Linked DNA regions of Homo sapiens: region 1 is linked to region 2. Evidence: promoter capture Hi-C in human tissues and cell types (Jung and others, 2019). All regions are on one chromosome and are shown on one strand. Each heading gives the region's core, a stretch centred on a gene start or on the middle of the fragment in contact. The rest is flanking DNA. Distances are from core to core; before and after follow the strand shown.

Region 1 (3,297 bases), core at 194-2,693, 180 kb before region 2:
GCAACCTCTGCCTCCCAGGTTCAAGCGATTCTTGTGCCTCAGCCTCCCAAGTAGCAGGAACTACAGGCTCAAGTCACCATGCCCAGCTAATTTTTGTATTTTTAGTAAAGATAGGGTTTTGCCACGTTGGCCAGACTGATCTCCAACACCTGGCTCAAGTGATCCACCTGTTTTGGGCTCCTAAAGTGCTTGGATTACAGGCATGAGCCACTGCACCTGGCCAGGGCTATTTTTTTTTTTTTTAATTTTGGTAGAGTTGGAGGTCTTTCTCTGTTGACCAGGCTCATCTCGAACTCCTGACCTCAAGCAATCCTTTGGCCTCAGCCTGCAAAAGTGCTGGGATTGCATGTGTGAGACACTGCATCTGGCTGGAAGTTTGGAAGTTTATTTCTGACTTTTGAGGTCCAAAATTGGTGCAGGATATTTCTGTGGGTGGCCTCAGACTGACCCAGTTCTTCCCCCTTTCATACTTGCAGTTCTTAAGAATAACTGTAGAATATGCCTAGAATACAACATCCTGAGATGGGCTGCCCAAAACAGCCTGATCCTTGTTCCTGTTCCTCCTAGAAAATGTAACATCTTGAGTTAGAGAGGAAATGCCTGGGGCAGCCAAGGCTTTGATTCTCTCTTCCCTGGAAGTAGAATGCCCCTCAAGGTTTTAGCCCAGTGGGTCATGTGCCCCTGAGCTCTATAACCCAGGGCAGGCTGCCTTTTGGGGGTCCCTCAGCTGTGATGCAAGTGAGACATGCACAGTTGAGAATCCATCCACCCTGGACAGCTTTCTTGAGCCTTGGAGGCCTGATATGGTTTGGCTCTGTGTCCCCACCCGTATCTCATGTTGAATTGTAATTCTCAATCCTGGGGGAGGGTCCTGGTGGGAGGTGATTGGTTCATGGGGATGGATTTCCCCCTTGCTGTTCTTGTGATAGTGAGTGAGGTCTCATGACTTCTGATGGTTTAAAAGTGTGTGGCTATATACCCAGTAATGGGATTGTTGGGTCAAATGGTACCCAAAGGACTATGAATCATTCTACTATAAAGACACATGCACGCATATGCTTACTGTAGCACTATTTACAATAGCAAAGACATGGAATCAACCCAAATGCCCATCAATGATAGACTGGATAAAGAAAATGTGGTACATATACACCATGGAATACTATGCAGCAGTAAAAAGGAATTAGTTCATTTCCTTTGCAGGGACATAGACGAAGCTGGAAACCATCATTCTCAGCAAACTATTGCAGGAACAGAAAACCAAACACCACATGTTCCCACTCATAAGTGGGAGTTGAACAGTGAGAACACAAGGACACAGGGAGAGGAATAACACACACCAGGGCCAGTTGGGGGGTTGGGGGCAAGGGGAGGGATAGCATTAGGACAAATAGCTAATGCATGCGGGGCTTAAAACCTAGACAATGGGTTGATAGATGCAACAAACCACCATGACACATGTATACCTGTGCAACAAACCTACACATTCTGCACTTGTATCCTGGAACTTAAAGTTAAAAAAAAGTGTGTGGCACTTGCCTCTTCACTGTCTCTCTCTCTCCTGAGGCCTCCCAGGTTGTGCCTCCTCTACAGCCTGCAGAAATTTGAGTCAATTAAACCTCTTTTCTTTATATATTACCCAGTCTCAGGTAGTTCTTCATAGCAGTGTGAGGATGGACTAATATAAGGTCTGGCTCACAGTGAATCTTATGCTCTTTTGTCCCTTGCTGCCTTCTGCACGTCATAAATCTGCTTTATGTAACTTGTTGCACATGTGTGTGTTCTGTCTCGCTGGACTCAGACAAGTTGGTTGGTAACCAGTACATGATGAACCTACTTTATAACTGGTTTCCAGATCAGAGAAGGGTTCTCCTTCAGGTAGTGATTCAGCATCCCAGGATCATTAATCTAGTGGCTTCCCCATCTTCTGCAAATCATTTTCATGCTCTTTTTTATGATCTGGCAGAAGGGGAAAGAGCACAGAGACCCATACACAGGAAGGTTTCATGGGCCAGGCTGGAGCCCAGTTACATGACCACCCTAACCACGGGAGGCTGGGAAACATAATCCAGTTGTGTGCCCAAGGAGAGAGATGGGTTTCATGAACAACATTTCCTGCCATGGAACAATAGGGAACAACGGAATGAACAGAAGCCCAGCACTGACTGTTACTGTTCACAGAGCAAGTTAGTTTAGTTACCTAAAGTGACTATATGTCAGCTTAGAATATGAAGCTATTTTCACATGAACTCCTATGAAAAAACAATGGCGCTTGTCAGAGGCCTGTCAGCTCTCAACAGTGTCCCATTATTGGCAGAGGCTGCCGCAGTGGAATAAAGCAGAAACTGCCTTCTAAATCATAAGACTCCATACTCAAACAGCTCAGAGTCTAATCAGCATCCTCCTCAGAAAGAGCAGGAAGTTTGCAGAGTGGGAAGGCTTGGCCCCTGTGGTGGTGGTGGGGGAGCTGGTTGTGTTGGGGCCTATTCAGATGAGAGATCATTGAGTGGCCTTGTGTATGATACTGCAGGACCTGAGTCCACTGAAAGCTTTGGCCATTTTTTTGGACTCCTAGTGGGATGGGAGCTGCTGGGAGAAGCTTCTCCTAAAGGAGACCCAGTGGGACCTGGTGAAGCAGGAGTAGAACCCTGAAAGAGCCCCAGTGAGGAGTAGTCTTGGTTGCTAAGTGTTTTAGTCCATTTGTGTTGCTATAAAGGAATACCTGAGGCTGGGTAATTTATAAAGAAAAGGGGTTTACTTGTCTCACAGTTTTGCAGGCTGTACAAGAAGTGTGGCCCCAGTATCTGCTTCTGGTGAGGAACTCAGGATGCTTCCACTCATGGTGGAAAGGGAAGAAGAATTGAGGTGTGCAGAGATCACATGGTGAGAGAGGAAGCAAGAGAGAGAAAAAGAGAGAGAGAGCAGGGAGATGTCAGGCTCTGTTAACAACCAGCTCTCATGGGAGTTAATAGAGCAAGAACTCACTCAGCACTGTGAGGACAGCACCAAGACATTCATGAGGGATCTGCCTCTGTGACCCAACTACCTCCCACTAGGCCTCACCTCCAACATTGGAGAACAAATTTCAACATGAGATTTGGAGAGATAAGCATCCAAACTATAGCATTCTGCCCTTGGCACCCCAAATCTCATGTCCTTCTCACATGCAAAATACCATCATTTCTTGCCAATATTCCCAAAAGTCTTAATTCATTTCAGCATTAACTCAAAAATCAAAGTTCAAAGCCTCCTCTGAGACTCAAGGCAAGTCCCTTACAACTGTGAGCCTATTAAATC
Region 2 (3,577 bases), core at 632-3,131:
CCCTTTAAGCTCCGTGAAGTCAGGGCCATAAACCATGTCAGTGTTATTGGCTAGAATAGTGTCTGGCTAGCCCTATGCATTCGCTTTCCCTAAACTGCAATGCCAATGTGAGGTGCCCAAAATTTTGCCATGTAGGTTGAGCTATATTATGCCAAAACTACTACATGTTTGTTAAGTGACTGTTCATTTTTCATCGCTTCATTCTAAAATTCTTTGATGCATCATGTAGAATTGAGAAGAAGATTACATCCCTTCATGACAGCATTTGCTGCCTGGCATTATTGTTGATTTGTGTGTGTGTCACTACCAGACTGGAGACCGTGTCTTACTGAATTTCTATGCCCAGCCCTTAGCCCGGTTCTTGGGACACACACGAGTCTGATGCCTCCCCACCATGAACAAGCCACTCTGAAAACTCCATAGAACCTTGCTTCTCAAAGTGTGATCTGTCAACCAGCAGCAGCAGCAGCATCACTGGGGAAGAGGCTTGCAAATGCAGAAGGTAGGCCCACCCCAAGAACTACTGAGCAGAATCTGTCAAGGTAAAAAGTTCAGACTATTCTGGAGGTAGCAGGAGGTCTTGGACATCATGGAATAGATGTGCCAAATCGAGGAGGTTGGGAAAGGGAGAGGCAGGTGGGTACCAGAAATGCAGGTGAGAGGGGATGAGGGCCTCAACCAGGGAGCTGAGGATGATGAGAAGTGGCATGCAGGGAGAGCTGGAGTGACCTTGCAGAGCCAGAAACTGATTGATGGAAGAAGGGAAGGAGAAGCGGGAAGAAAGTCAAGGGTGATTGAGGCTCCGAATCTGTTGGGCTGGGGTAGAGAAGACGTGAGCACCAGGGGAAGGCAGGCTGGTCAGCTGATGATGCCCCTGTAGGGTCCCTTGCCTGCAGACCATCTCCATTCATACAAGAGCCCCTGGGCAAGTGGAAGAAAAGCAGTGGGAAAACCTTCACCTCTGACAGGGCAAGACAAGACTATCACACTTTTTCCTTATCCCATCTTTAAACTGGAGGATCATCTTGGAACTTAAGATCTATGAGGTGCTCTGGTTTTTATATCCAGAGGAGGCATGGGATCATAAAAGCAGACAGCTATCAGGTTCTTCATCTTAGAATCCATTGATGTGGCAAAATGAAAAAATAAATTAATAGTGCCACTTCAGTATCTAAATGAATTGGGGTTTGGCCAATGTCTGCAGGAAGCTTCTACAAGAACTCAGTAAATGATTTCCATTTGAAAACACAGCTCAAAGAGCGCTTAATAAGTGCAATTTGGTGATGATAATGATGATCCACAGAGCAGCAGCATCTATCCAGTCAAGCAAATGTTCCTGGGGAACAGTGATAATGAACCAGGTCCAGGACCATGGGCAATTCTAAAAGAGCGTGCGGGGCATTTTGTTGTTTTAAAGATCTGCTTCCCTAACCTGTCCACCCCGCATCCCTGCTGCTGATCGTGAATATCATCCTAAGCAATTCTTTTGGCCCTGAATGTAGTGGTTTAGGTAAAGGCGTGGAAAAGCCAGGACTGTAGAGACTTGGAGCTCCCCAGGGAAACCACAGGAACGAAATAGGTCACAGGGCTCCAGGCAGCGCTCCCCTGCCCCGCCCGGTGCAAGCCCGGGGCCGCCGGCTGGGGTGGGGCGCGCAGCGCGGCAGGCAGGCAGGGCTACCATGCAGTTCTCAGCCTCCTGGCTCCTTCGCCCCTCGCCCCGCGCCCCTGGGCCGCCCTCGCCTGCCCGCACCCTAGAGCAGCCCTGACCCGTGGGGGCGCGCGGCCTCGCGGGGATCCCGCGGGCGGGCGGGCGGCCGGGCGCGCGCGGGGCGGGGGCGGCGCGCGCGCGGGGAGCGTGTGGGCCGGGCGGGCGCGGCGGGGAAAGCTGGGCGCGCGAGCCGAGGCTGCTGCTCACCTGCAGCCGCGCCGCTCACCTGCCGCGGAGTGCGCGCCCCGCGCCCTCCCGGCCCGCTCCGGAGCCCGGCCGCCCCCCCCTTGCCACAGCGGGCAACTGCGCCGACATGCGACACGAGTAGCCCACGCGCTTCGGAAGCACCGGAGGAGCCCCCTCGGCCTGGGCGAGCCAAGGTGACCCCCTCGATGACCCCCCCGCCCCCGCGGGCCGCCTGTCCCCGCACCCTGTCTGTCCCCCTCGCGTCCGACTCCCGTCCCCGCCGCCAGGGAATCGGCAGCAGTGCATGGGCATCTGTCTGTCTGTCTGTCTCGGTACTTCCATTGCACACACCTCCCTCTCGTGGCCCTCCCGACTGCCCCGTGCGCACGGGGGGAGTCTGGAGCCCCTCTTTGTTCCGGTCGGGGGTGCGTTTGAGGATGTGCACGCGCGCGGGGGATGCGTTTGGAGGGTGGGAGTTCGATGGAAATAGGCGATTTAAATATTCCATCGAGGATGGCGGCCCCTGGCTCGAGACCTGCCGCTGCCGCGTGGTTTTCTCGGCAGCAGCCCAGATGTCAAACAGTTGTTCGTTTTCAGCATGCAAGATGTGATTTTCCAATGTGCATTCCCAGCGCTGTTGCAAACAGACCGCCGCGAGTCCGTGTGTGCCTGCCTCGCTCACGCTGGTGTTTTGAAGTCCTACCCTGTGTTTTCCCCAATGCCAAACGGCATTTTTGTTGTGGGGTTTAAACCACAGAGACTTTGGCTTTTGTTTCATTTCCCAACAGTTCCTCATTCCCGAAGCTTGTGGCATTTGGTACTGGTATCTGAGCAGGGGCTGGCTTTCTGTTTGTCTGTGTGTTTTTTGCATGATCTTGGATTGTCACCCTGCTGTATTTAAACATTAAAAAGCCTGTCTTTTCGTTGAAGAGGACAGGGGTTAAAATGAATGAAGACCTGAAGGTCAATTTAAGCGGGCTGCCTCGGGATTATTTAGATGCCGCTGCTGCGGAGAACATCTCGGCTGCTGTCTCCTCCCGGGTTCCTGCCGTAGAGCCAGAGCCTGAGCTCGTAGTCAACCCCTGGGACATTGTCTTGTGTACCTCGGGAACCCTCATCTCCTGTGAAAATGCCATTGTGGTCCTTATCATCTTCCACAACCCCAGCCTGCGAGCACCCATGTTCCTGCTAATAGGCAGCCTGGCTCTTGCAGACCTGCTGGCCGGCATTGGACTCATCACCAATTTTGTTTTTGCCTACCTGCTTCAGTCAGAAGCCACCAAGCTGGTCACGATCGGCCTCATTGTCGCCTCTTTCTCTGCCTCTGTCTGCAGCTTGCTGGCTATCACTGTTGACCGCTACCTCTCACTGTACTACGCTCTGACGTACCATTCGGAGAGGACGGTCACGTTTACCTATGTCATGCTCGTCATGCTCTGGGGGACCTCCATCTGCCTGGGGCTGCTGCCCGTCATGGGCTGGAACTGCCTCCGAGACGAGTCCACCTGCAGCGTGGTCAGACCGCTCACCAAGAACAACGCGGCCATCCTCTCGGTGTCCTTCCTCTTCATGTTTGCGCTCATGCTTCAGCTCTACATCCAGATCTGTAAGATTGTGATGAGGCACGCCCATCAGATAGCCCTGCAGCACCACTTCCTGGCCACGTCGCACTATGTGACCACC

Evidence for each region. The method cuts DNA at HindIII sites, captures the fragments that hold promoters and counts their contacts. A contact is called where the count stands out against the background at its distance.
Region 1: a fragment that was not itself captured here is called in contact with the fragment with the promoter of GPR12 in region 2 in 1 of the 25 tissues and cell types used here (H1 embryonic stem cells).

Annotation. Positions count from the first base shown.
Region 1 is chr13:26,936,649-26,939,945 of GRCh38, reverse strand. No RefSeq gene overlaps it. Among named protein-coding and RNA genes, the nearest start is that of GPR12, 180 kb to the right of the region's middle. The HindIII fragment of the contact is 4,444 bases long and covers 1-3,297 here.
Region 2 is chr13:26,759,090-26,762,666 of GRCh38, reverse strand. It overlaps GPR12 (G protein-coupled receptor 12), which reads left to right and starts at 1,881. Exons shown (of 2, transcript NM_005288.4): 1 at 1,881-2,088; 2 at 2,825-3,577. The coding sequence starts at 2,840. The HindIII fragment of the contact is 6,005 bases long and covers 1-3,577 here.